Linked DNA regions of Homo sapiens: all the other regions are linked to region 1. Evidence: promoter capture Hi-C in 16 types of primary human blood cells and fetal thymus (Javierre and others, 2016). All regions are on one chromosome and are shown on one strand. The core of a region is centred on a gene start or on the middle of the fragment in contact, and the rest is flanking DNA. Distances in the headings are between cores, read along the strand shown.

What was found. Contacts are between HindIII fragments. The CHiCAGO score rates a contact against its expected background, and 5 or more counts as called.
Region 2: a fragment that was not itself captured here is called in contact with the fragment with the promoter of FMO4 in region 1 in 3 of 17 cell types (naive B cells, total CD8 T cells and naive CD8 T cells); the score reaches 8.7 in naive B cells.
Region 3: a fragment that was not itself captured here is called in contact with the fragment with the promoter of FMO4 in region 1 in 4 of 17 cell types (naive B cells, total B cells, naive CD4 T cells and 1 more); the score reaches 10.1 in naive B cells.
Region 4: a fragment that was not itself captured here is called in contact with the fragment with the promoter of FMO4 in region 1 in 1 of 17 cell types (total B cells); the score reaches 5.2 in total B cells.

Annotation. Positions count from the first base shown.
Region 1 is chr1:171,312,537-171,315,609 of GRCh38, reverse strand. It overlaps FMO4 (flavin containing dimethylaniline monoxygenase 4), which reads right to left and starts at 1,427. Exons shown (of 10, transcript NM_002022.3): 1 at 1,197-1,427. The HindIII fragment of the contact is 2,730 bases long and covers 123-2,852 here.
Region 2 is chr1:169,897,871-169,900,943 of GRCh38, reverse strand. No RefSeq gene overlaps it. Among named protein-coding and RNA genes, the nearest start is that of SCYL3, 5.5 kb to the right of the region's middle. The HindIII fragment of the contact is 5,358 bases long and covers 1-3,073 here.
Region 3 is chr1:169,920,028-169,923,100 of GRCh38, reverse strand. KIFAP3 (kinesin associated protein 3) reads left to right here. Exons shown (of 20, transcript NM_014970.4): 20 at 1,320-1,772. The coding sequence ends at 1,425. Among named protein-coding and RNA genes, the nearest start is that of SCYL3, 28 kb to the right of the region's middle. The HindIII fragment of the contact is 2,125 bases long and covers 342-2,466 here.
Region 4 is chr1:170,063,047-170,066,119 of GRCh38, reverse strand. The region is part of intron 1 of KIFAP3 (kinesin associated protein 3); the gene reads left to right. Among named protein-coding and RNA genes, the nearest start is that of KIFAP3, 10 kb to the left of the region's middle. The HindIII fragment of the contact is 4,323 bases long and covers 1-3,073 here.

The sequences.
Region 1 (3,073 bases), core at 178-2,677:
GTTCTGCTTCTGCCTCTAAGCAGCTTGTAACCCTGGACACAATTCTCAATTTCTCTGAGCCAGTGCTTCCACATTTGTAAAACAGAGGGTTCAAGTGGCTTTCTCTTTGTTTCCTTCAAGCTTGAAAGGACTGTTCTTATGTCTGAAAACCAAGTAATTGGTGCACAAAAAAAAAAAGATATGAATTCAAAGGTAGGCGAGAATACTGCAGGCTTGAAGGATTGGGAGAACGTGTGTGCAAACTCTGCAAACTATAAAGTGGACTTCATAAGGTACTTGGTTGCTCAAAGGTGCTTATATTTATTTATTTATTTATTTGAGTTGGAGTCTCACTCTGTCTTCCAGGCTGGAATGCAGTGGCACAATTTCGGCTCACTGCAACCTCCACCTCCTGGGTTCAAGTGATTCTCCTGCCTCAGCCTCCTGAGTAGCTGAGACTACAGGCAGGCGGCACCACGCCTGGATAATTTTTGTATTTTTAGTAGAGACGGGGTTTCACCATGTTGGTCAGGCTGGTCTCAAACTCCTGATCTCAAGTGGTCTGCCCTCCTCGGCTTTCCAAAGTGCTGGGATTACAGGCGTGAGCCACCGTGCCAGCCATAGGTTGCTTATATTTAGTCCCTTGGCAGAAAGGAGACCTGACCTATTGAACTAGACCTTTGTACAACGGGAAAACCCCACCCTATACCTGACTGACCAGCAAATGTAGGAATCCTTTATGAGACATGGAGAGACTTGGGTGATTTGCAAATCATGTAATCAATTATGATTTCTTTGAATTTGAAATTTGATCATTTTATGTTTCTTATCATCATCCTACCATGCTCTTGCTTTGTTACAGTATTTTTTTCCCACGCCATCTATGGGGTATTTGTTTCCCAATGGCTGGCATTTCCATCTCATTCATAAGATGAAATCAGAGGTCACTGGAGTCACTGAAAGTCTCATGATTCTGTTTATCTCACTGACACTTTCCTTTTGGATGGTTCTGTCCACAACATAACTTTGTTTCCTTACAACTTCCCTTTGCTTCCTGACTCTCTCCTTAATTCTCTTGCTTTAGCCCTAGTCAAGAGACCCCAAAAGAAGATAATCACATTCATTCTTAAGGAACACACTCCAAGAAAAACATTCATCTTTTGTGAAAGCAGTTTCTGGATCATTTCCCCATTAAAAAAAAAATCCAGGACACTTACCTTGGTTAGCATAGAGCAGATTCTTTGACTTAAATTATTTCTCAAAGTCAAGGAAAGTGTTTGTCTTTTTTTTTTAAAAAAGCTCAAAACCCAAATTCTTTTTTCTGAAAGAAAAATAAATGGAAAGATGACTTTTGTAAAAGTGCCCTCAGTTTAAAACAAAAGCCATTCGTCTTTTCTGTTATGCTAGTGACAGCAGAAAGTATACAGACTAAGGAAAAAAAGTTGTGTAAGAGGCAAGCGTGATACTTCCGTGATCTTAAGGGAGGGCGGAATGGTGAGTTAGAATACAGCTGTTGGATTGGCAGAACATAAACGCTTCCTGCCCCTTTACCCCACCCTCCTCAACGTCATAGTTCTGGCAAAGCCCTAAAGCTATGGGAAGCACATGATAGCGTCGCTTTTGCCATTATAGTCTGTAGAGGGCGCCAAATCACCCCAAATTACAGCTTTCTCAGCGAAACAGGAGTTCTACTTTTGGAAACAAACTTCTACACCCTGACTCTTGCTTGGATTACCATAGGAGCTGTCCAAAGGAGAAAGTTATTTAGATGACCATTACCTCATCAAGTTCTTTCATGCTTGGAGTTCTCCAACCCCAGAAATGTGATTTTAAAGTTCAGGACTTACAAGGAATTTAAGCTGTTTTGTCCTTCAGATTGGATCAGCAGAGGGAGCTGGTGAAATGTGTTTGAGAAAGCATAAAGCTATTTTTAGATATTAACCTAGGGCACAAGAAAGGTAATAATTATAGAAGCTGTGGCAGAAATAGAAAACTTAACTGTTTTTCCTTCCACTGTGTGCTTGTAAGATAATATAACAGACCATCTTTAGGACTTGTGTTTAGGGACATTTTCCAACATGGTTCACTGAACAATTTCTAAACCACATTTGCTTGTGACTACACATGCAAATGCCTACAGGAGTGAGGAGGGTAACATACACGAGGAAAGTGGGCCAGATATGATCTGACTGGAAAGTACTTTCTCTGTCTATTCAGTTCAGCTAAATGTTGCTATTTGAGAAAATGAGCCCAATATGGCAAGGCCTTAGGTTCTTTTCAGTAAAAGCTGCAAATACAGATTTTAATATAAAATCTTCTGTTGGCAGCAAATATTTTCTTTTGAAAAATATCATGGAATATTATGCAGCCATAAAAAGAAATAAGATCATGTCCTTTGCAGGGACATGGATGAAGCTGGAAGCCATCATCCTCAGCAAACTAACACAGGAACAGAAAACCAAACACTGCATGTTCTCACTCATAAGTGGGAGTTGAACAATGAGAACACATGGACACAGAGAGGGGAATGTTGTAGGGCCTGTTGTAGGGTAGGGGGTGAGGAGAGGGAACTTAGAGGAGAACAGGTCAATAGGTGCAGCAAATCACCATGGCACACGTGTACCTATGCAACAAACCTGCACGTTCTGCACATGCATCCCACTTTTTTTTAGAAGAAATAAAGAAAAAAATTTAAAAAAAGAAAAAAAAATATTGTGTCCAGAGTTAGTTCCTTCCGGTGGGTTCCTGGTCTCCCTGACTTCAAGAATGGAGCTGCGGACCTTTGTGGTGAGTGTTACAGTTCTTAAAAGATGGCACAGACCCAAAGAGTGAGCAGCAGCAAGATTTATTGTGAAGAGCGAAAGAACAAAGCTTCCACAGAGTGGAAGGGGACCCGAGCCAGTTGCTGCCGCTGGCTGGGGTGGCCAGCTTTCTCTTATTTGTCCCCTCCCATGTCCTGTTTCTGTCTTATCAGAATGCCCTTTTCTCAATTCTCCCCACGATTGGTTACTTTTAGAATCCTGCTGATTGATCCATTTTACAGAGCGCTGATTGGTCCATTTTACAGAGCACTGATTGGTCCATTTTACAGAGA
Region 2 (3,073 bases), core at 291-2,790, 1.4 Mb after region 1:
TCAGGCAAATATAAAATGAACACATGTCAAAGACTCTATTTAATGTTTTTATTAATGAGGGAATCAGTAAGATTTTAAACTAGTCCAAATAGCAGCTGAGAAGATAGGTGTATATGTAGGCAATTTGATAAAGACATGTCAGGTTCAGGTTGCTGGGTTAATAACTTACAGGACAATAAACTGTAACCATTAAGATGATTTGCTGTGCTGGACAAACTTATTTACATCTCTAGTGGATGAAAATGAAAAAGTTAGCCTCTGCCCCTAAAAAGGTAATAAAGAAGTAGTAAAATAACCTAGTCAATAGGAATTTAATCCAGAATTGCATGGGAAGAAAGCCACAGTAACCTCTTTTGCCTATTTTAAAGTTTCAGATAATTGTTTTCTCTCAAAACCAAAAGCCATAATACATAAGCAAATTGTCATATTTCATCAAATATATGATGCCATCACATTTAGGAAGCATCAATATATTTGGTACCACTAAGAAAAAATTATTGACAAATTATATTATGCCATTTGTGGTAAAATGCATTCTGACCTTCAGGGATGTTAAAATGTGAAAAACTATAGTTTTTACAATCTAGAAAATACAGTATATGGCTGTTTATAAGACGGTCAGTGCTATGGAGGGAAAAAGCAAAAGAAAACAGGATAGGAAGCACCAGGAGTGTAGCAGGAAGGAAGGTAAACGTTGTAGAATTAGATAGGGTGGATCAGGACAGACTTCATTGAGAAGACGAGATCTGAACAAAAAATAGAAGTAACAGACTTAGTCAAATGGACATGTGGGAAAAGAGAATGACAGGAAAAGGAAGCGCTAGAGCAAAAGTCCTAAGGCAAGAGCTCACCTGGCATGCTGACAGGACAGCAAGGAGGCCACTGAGCATGGACCAGAGTTAGTGAGCAGGAGGATAGCAGTGAGGCCAAAGGAGGGAGGCCTTAGATCATTTAGGGCAGTTCTCAAACCTTCCTGCAAGGAAGGTGCCTGCAAATCACCTAAAGATCCTGTTAAAATGTAGATTCTGACTCGACAATCTAGCGTGAGGCCTCAGCTTTTGCATTTTTAACATGCTTCCAGAGGATGCTCATGTTGCCTTCAAATATTAATTAACCACCCCTACAGGATAGATCTAAGTTAGTACACATCTGTATCTCCCTGAAGGCTGAAGTATTTCAAAGAAGAGGTAGATATATAATGCACACATTGTTTGCCCCAAATCTTTCTCCCAGGAGTATGATTCCAAGATGATTCATGGCTCTTTGAAGTTGAGAAGCAATTCACACTTCAGAGGCTTTTAGCATCTGAAAGATTTCAATGAGAAGTCTATACTCCTGGGGCAGATACTACAAACACTTCAGCTATCTCTAACTCAGATCAATACTAGTGGCTTTAAGGATGTTTAAAAGTGAATTTTCATGGCCAAAATAAGTAATTTCAAGATGGACAGAATGAATAGAAATGTTGCCATGCCTTACATGATCAGAGTATGAGAATCTAGTGAGTCTAGCAATCTACACACTTTGGAAAGGTGCCCTAGATTTAGGATTTCAGACCAGCCCCATATGGAGAAGATTACAAGAAGATTTTGTCACCCAGCTCTAATGAGGATAGCTGAGTCTGCTATTAGAATACTGTCCCATCTTCCTGCAGTGGATGGACCTTTCATGCAAGATGCTATTCAAGCTCCTACACAAGGAAGTGGAACCTCACTGAGTTTGTATAACAGCTCTACTGCCTGTCTTTAAACCTTGCTAATAAACGTGTGAATGTGTAGAATCCCACCTCAGACTTGCTTTCATTCTCTCTTTGTAGTGGTAGCAAGGTTATGGTGGAACTTAGAAAACACATACTTCTCATTAGAGAAATCTTCCAATATCTATGCAAAGTTCCTAAAAACAACGAGAGAACAAAGTGGCTTAGGTCCAGTTCAGTTTTCTATAAGGTATCCACTACTTATGGATGCTATATGTATTTATCTGAAATGTGCCTGAAGGAGGGTTTGTCATTCATGCAAGTTTCCCCCTTTACACTTCCAGATTCTAATTGCAATTATGCAATTACACAAATTATTGAGGTAGAACATTAAATAGAAATCACTTGAATAACTTTTACTCTCTTTGGTTTTCAGGTAGAGCTTGTAAAAAAGTTAGTTCAAATCAAGTTGGAAAAAAATAATTAAGTTGGATGGCTAAGGCTTTTATAGAACCAGGAATATATCCAAGATACTTATAGTCTACTTGGGAATCTAAGTTAGAAACATGAAAAAGATTAATTAAAAAAACACCTAAAAGTCAAGCTGAATACCATTGACATGTTTTGATTTGAATTAAGAAGAGGATTGGTTGGAAGTAAAATTCAGGTTGATCCTTAAACAGTATGACAAGAAAAAATTATTTCTATTAAGAAAACAAACTATTTGTTTCTAACTGTCCCACCAGCCACATTCCAAGGACAGCGGATTCAGGTTGTTGGAGATTCTTTTCTTTCCTGGCCTTAGACATATTTAAAATGAGGACTGAGGAATCAGTGAGGGAATACAAGATTTCTATGCATAAGAAAGGCAGAAGGAGCTCAGAGAGCAGCTCCAGGGAACTGAGAACTGGAACCAGAGCTATAGAGGGCTCTGTGGGGTAAGGGCTGGGAGGCAGAGAGATGTAGGGAGGGTGCCTGGGACATGCAGTGTGCTCTCAGTAAATTCATTTGTGTGTTTAATATTTACTGAGTACCTAGTATGTTCTAGGCACTGTGTTATGTGCTAGAAATATGGCAGGAAAGAAAGAAATGAAGGAAGGAAGCCCTGTTTTCAGGGAGCTGATGTTCTAGCTGTGGGACAGAGATGCTGAACAAATATGTGCATTGGTGTTAAGCAAAATAAGGCAAAGTCAAAAGACAGGAAGAGGCAGGTAAGGTGCTGTTTTAGACAGTGTTTTCAGGGGAGCTGTCTCTGATAAATTGCATTCAAGTAGAATTTTCAAAATATAATTATAACTCTCATGCAAATATAAAATGAACACATTAGTTAATGAGGAAACTAAAAAGACATTAAGACTGTTCAAAGAGCATTTGTGT
Region 3 (3,073 bases), core at 155-2,654, 1.4 Mb after region 1:
CTTCCATTCTCCTAAAGGGCAGAGTCACTGGACCAGTATGTGTTATATGTATTTTGGCTCTTTACATTTACTCTTTAGTTCCATCTTAATACACACAAGCACGCGTGCACACAAACACACACACGCATTCACACATTTATTTAAAACCTTAACATTTTAATAGTTACTTCTAAAGTGTGTCAACTTAATCTCACTCTGAGTGTGACAGGGAGTTAGTGCCTATGTGAATATATTTTTTCATCACATTCAGTTTTTGCTATTGAGGGAAAATTATCTTTCCATCTCATGTAGTGCAAACTTAAATCTTAAATCATTTAAATATGTTTTATTTTTCCAAAGCTTACATTTCTGCATTACAAATGGTGTCCATTGATTGGAAGTCAAGCTCACTAGCATTCACTGCATGAGCTATGCATGAGCATGTTAAGGCCACCATGTTCTGCCTGGCAAAATAAATACTTTATCATTTTCCTAAGTGTTGGATAATTCCCTGACCTTTAAAAAGGACTTTGGAGAACAGATTTTCCTCTAAATAATGTATTAATAGACCAACAAGTAATTTTTTTAAAATAATAATCATGAAGTTTAACATACTTCAAGCTATCTTTACAACTCTGAAGGTTATCTTTGGGTTTCTGTTATTCCCATAGAATAAGTTGAACCAAAATTTGTAATTGTCTTGCTGTCACTCAAAAGAAATAGATATGTTTTGTAATTGTTTGCATTGAGGAATCAGAGGAAGGATTTGCAGATCAAATCTGACTAATTTTCAAATTTTGTCAAATTCCTTATCTTGTTCTTTTAATCATAGGCTTATGGTATGATTTGGCCCTGCATGAGAGTTCACTGATATAACTCAAACACATGTTTTTACTAAAAGTGGAATTAGTCCTGTATCTTCATATGAAAAGACATTATAAACAGCAAAACTCACTTTACTACAGTTTTATTTTTATCATTCCCTAGCAATATATTACTGATCATTGCTAGCATGTAAAATCTTTTCATATTTTTGCTTAAGAGCCATATATAAGTAATTTATTAAATAAAACTTTTCTGATTTGATTCTTCCACTTTGTTTCAAATAGTACCTACTGACAGAGGTTTCCCATACTTTTAACACACATTGTTAGAAGTATTTTATTATATACACTTTTAATGGCTCTATTAACCTTAAAAAAAAAAGTTAATGATATCCACCTAAATCACTATCCCTGCTAGGAAGAGAATCTTGGTGGTATAAAAATGTAGGCCTCTTAATCTGCATTGTGGATGTGTGATGAAAAACATAGCTTATCATTCTTTTTTTTCTTTTTTAGCCTTGGAATGGATGGCTTTGGCCAACCAGTTGGCATTCTTGGACGCCCTGCCACAGCATATGGATTCCGCCCTGATGAACCTTACTACTATGGCTATGGATCTTGATAAAGTATCTGTTTCCATGTGTAATCTCAGCTTAGAAGAAATCTGTGTGGGTTGGGTTAATTTTGGATCTTTGCCTAATAATGCATGTTGATGTTATTGTGGGTCTGTGTTTGTTTTTATTTTTATATGTTGTTAGCTGCAGATTAACCCCAGCCCCTCTGTCTTCTGTTAAGTACAGTTGATACTGACATTGTTCACTCATCAAACCACATCTTGATGCTAAGTAACATTTCCCATGAGCCACAAAACTGAATGCTGAAAAGCTACTAGACTGGAAAACAAACACTGCATTATGTATGTTAAGTGACTAATTTAATTTCAATTAAAAAGCGTAAAGTGAAAATGAATAAGTGAAAGTCATGTGTTTATATTTCACACATTTCACTACGAATTACATGTTAATATAGGGTGCGCGTGAATTTTATTTTTTCTCCTTTTTTTCTGCTTGTAAACTCTTGAGTAATTTGTATAATATATGCTACCTTTAAAATTTATAAAAAGAACATCACCTTCATATTCCATGCCATGTGCCTGAAAGTTTCCTTCCCAAAGTTTATTAACTATGAGTTTTCAATTAATAATGGAACATATGTCATAAGTTATTTATGGTTATAGTCTCTTTGGTGGTTTTAATTCATATCTTCCTAGTTGTAATATAGAAATCCTAGGACAAGTAGTATACAAGACAAGCAGTGATACAAGATTAGCATTTGGCTTTTAACTTTTATTCTTCATAAATTTAGTATCTAAAGCATGGGAAAGCTAATTAAAAGTCGCATTAAGGAAAACTAAGGAACAGAATATTTCACTCACTTGGGTACCCAGTTCCCAATTGTTCACTTGTTCTTATAACGTACATTTAGATAGCAAGAAATGGAGAGACATTATATAATTCATAATGGGTTTTGAAAATAGTTCAGTGTTTTCATATTAAAAAAATGTTCAATTCTACTTGAAAAGCTGAGCAAAGAAATAACCATAATAATAACTATAATCAGAGATAGTTCCATGATCACCTGCTATGGGAGAAAATATGAAGCTTCAAAGGGAATACATAGATCAAAGATAAGACTTCTGTTCTTGAATTTAAAATCTCATTGATCTAACTACACTATTTATGTGGCTTAAATTACATTTTAAGCAGAAGATAACATTTGGAAAAGGCCTTTGAAATAACTCATTCCATCTACTTATTTAAGAAACCAATCACATAAAAAATTTAAATGTAATCAACAGATATTTTCCTGACTACCTGCTATGTGTAAGGAAGTATATGATGCCCCTTAGGAGATGTAAATCTGAGGTATGTTTATGCCTTTGATCTTTCTGAAAACATACATTTATTTGTCTTAGTTTCTATTTTAACCATAAAATATTAAAGCTGGAAAAGGCCTTAGAAGCAACCCTGTCCAACTCTAATTTTTGCAGTCAAAAAAACTGGCCAGGAGAGGTTAAGTGACTTAGTCAATGACATAGGCTGTCTCTTTGCTTCCTATTCAGCAATCTCAATACTAAATAGCTTGTTTTATTATTTATCATGTGTACAAAGTATAAATACACATAAGTGACATTAATAGGAAAATGATGCAAACATCCTATAGCTTTAACTTCCCTCATGTTGTTATAAACTGCATTAGGAAGAACACCC
Region 4 (3,073 bases), core at 301-2,800, 1.2 Mb after region 1:
TGTGAAAAAAAAAAGGTAACTAAAACATTGTTTTTCCTAAAGCAACCACCAAAAACAGTTTTTAAAAGTATAGTGAAAACATCTACACAAAATGGAATTTAAAAAATAATAATTCACAAGGCTGTTAGGAAAATAATCAAAGTATAGTTGGGCCAAACAGGAAATAAAAATGAAGTGATAGATCTGAATCTAAGTATGTCAGTCATTGCATTAAATGATCCAAAACAATAATGTCCAATAGAACTTTCTTCCCTGATGGAAATGACTTACAGCTGCATCATCAAATACATAGCCACTGGCTGTATGGCTAATGAACACTTTGAACGTGGTTAGTACAGCTAAGGAATTGCATTTTTAATTATTTTTAAAATGTAATGTATTTAAATTTAATTTTAAATAGACCCATGTAGCTAGTGACTATTGTATCAGACAGCATAGGTTTTAATGTTCCAATGGAAAGGCAGAGATTACCAATATTTCTTTTTTTTTTTTTTTTTTTTTTTTTTGAGGTGGAGTCTTGCTCTGTCGCCCAGGCTGGAGGGCAGTGGCATGATCTTGGCTCACTGCAAGCTCCGCCTCCCGGGTTCACGCCATTCTCCTGCCTCAGCCTCCCAAGTAGCTGGGACTACAGGTGCCCGCCACCATGCCCAGCTAATTTTTTGTATTTTTTAGTAGAGACAGGGTTTCACCATGTTAGCCAGGATGGTCTCGATCTCCTGACCTCATGATCCACCCACCTCGGCTTCCCAAAATGCTGGGATTACAGGCGTGAGCCACTGCGCCCGGCCACCAATATTTCTTTTATAAAGAAAAAAGAAAAGCAAGACCCAACTATCTGTCATCCCCAAAAAATATACTTTTAAGTATGGACATGGTAAGTTAATGGTAAATGGGTGCAATCAAACAGTAAGCATAAGAATGCTAAAATGACCATATTAATGTCAGATAAAATAGGCTTTAAGAAAACGTATACTGTAAAAACTACAGAGGAGTATTTCATACTGATAAAATCTGCTACATCCAGACAGTTTTAAAGTCAAATTCTAACAAAATTTTTGGGAAACAGATGCTTCCAATTATGTACAACTCTTCCAAGAAGTCTAGAAAAAAAAGGATACTCCTCAACTAATTTATATTAAGATTTTAGAATAATCTCCATATGAAAGTCAGAAAAAGGACATTAGAAAGGAAAATTGCAGGCTGAATGAGCAAGGATGCAAATTTAATCTAACAGTGCTTTAAGACAGCATTAACAAGTTGTGCTTATTCTAAGAATATGAGTATGGTTTTATGTATTTAATGAATTTGATGTAGTATATTTATGAATTAAAGAAGAACAATACATGATCCTCCAATGGATGCAGAAAAACATTTGATGACATTCACTACACATTCATGATTTAAGGAAAAAACTAAAGCCATAAATAAAAGGGAATTATGATATAAACATATTAAATGAGGAAACTAGCCAGGTGTGTTGGCTCATGCCTGTCATCCCAGCACTTTGGGAGGCTGAGGCTGGTGGATCGCTTGAGCCCAGGAGTTCAAGACTAGCCTGGGCAATATGTTGAAACCCCATCTCTATAAAAAATACAAAACTTAGCTGGGCATGGTGGTGCATGCCTGTAGTCCCAGCTACTTGGAAGGTGGAGGTGGGAGGATTGCCTGAGCCTGGGAGGCAAGGCTGCAGTGAGCTGTGATCACACCACTGCACTTCAGCCTAGGTGACAAGAGTGAGACCCTTTCTCAAAAAATAAAGTAACATCAGTAAATGAGGAAACTTTAGAAACATTTCCCTTAACATTAAGGATGATCCAAGGATACCTATGTAACCACCTCAACATTTCACCAGGAGTCCTAAACAGGTAGTAAGATAAGAAATAGAAAAGGTATAAAGATAGGAAGAGAAGAAATGAAACTGATATTATTCACAAATTATATATTAGTTTGTAGAGAAAACCTAAAATAATGTTCAAGCTATTGGCATTAATATCAAGGTATTAAGCAACAGTTGCTGGATGTAACATCTATATACCTCCCACTCCCAAATTGAATTTTGATATAGTTGGTTAAATATTGTTAGCAAAAAAGTTATTTACAAATGCAAATAACAATATAAGGTACTTGGGAATAAATCTAATAATAAATGATGGGCATCACCTTTCTAAAGAAATTTATATCATTTCATTAAAAGAAAATTAAATCTTAAAAGTAGATTTATCATTTTCATGGATAGATGCCTTAATCTGAAAATTCATTATGTCAGTCATTATCCCAAAAGGTATTTTACTGAATTTGAAACACAATTTTAAATTTTTAAGTGGACAGGGAAAGGTCCCGCAATACTGAGAAAAATATGGAAGAGCCAGGTTGGGAACACTTCCCTCAGGTATCGATGTAAAAATAGCTCAGTAAACCAACTGAATAAAATGAAAAGCCTAGAAATAGACACACATGGGTGTGTCTATGGGTTATTCTTGCCCACTACAGAGAAAAAAACAACTCACTGTGACAGCGGTATTGCAGTAGAGTAAGAGTTTAATAATTGCAGGGCTAGCCAAGCAGCAGGGTGGGAGTGTTACTCATACAAGCCTCCCCCAAAAGTTGGAAGTTAGGGTTTTTCAAGGACAGTTTGGAGGGCAGAGGGCTAGGAAATGGGAGACACTGATTGATTGACTTGGGGATGATATTATAGCAGGTTTAGCTATCTTCTTGTGCTGAGTCAGTTCCTGGGTGGGGATCACAGAACCAGTTGAATTAGTTCAGTGGTGTGAGTCACAGGTCCAGGTGGAGTCAGTCAGTGTCCAGAATACAAAAGTCTGAAAAATATCTCAAAGACTAATCTTAGGTTTTGACAATAGTGTTGTTATCTATCAGAGCAATTAGGGAAGATACAAATCTTGTGACCTCTGGAGCAGTAGATTATTATAGAAAGGCAAACTAGGGAACAATGGCTGGTTATCGTTTAACTGCATCTACTGGCTTAGCAGAATTTAGGTCCCTCCCGTAATTCTAATATTGGGGCCTTTCATTAGTCTTACAAAGGTGGTTTCAAGGCTAGTTTTGGGAAGGG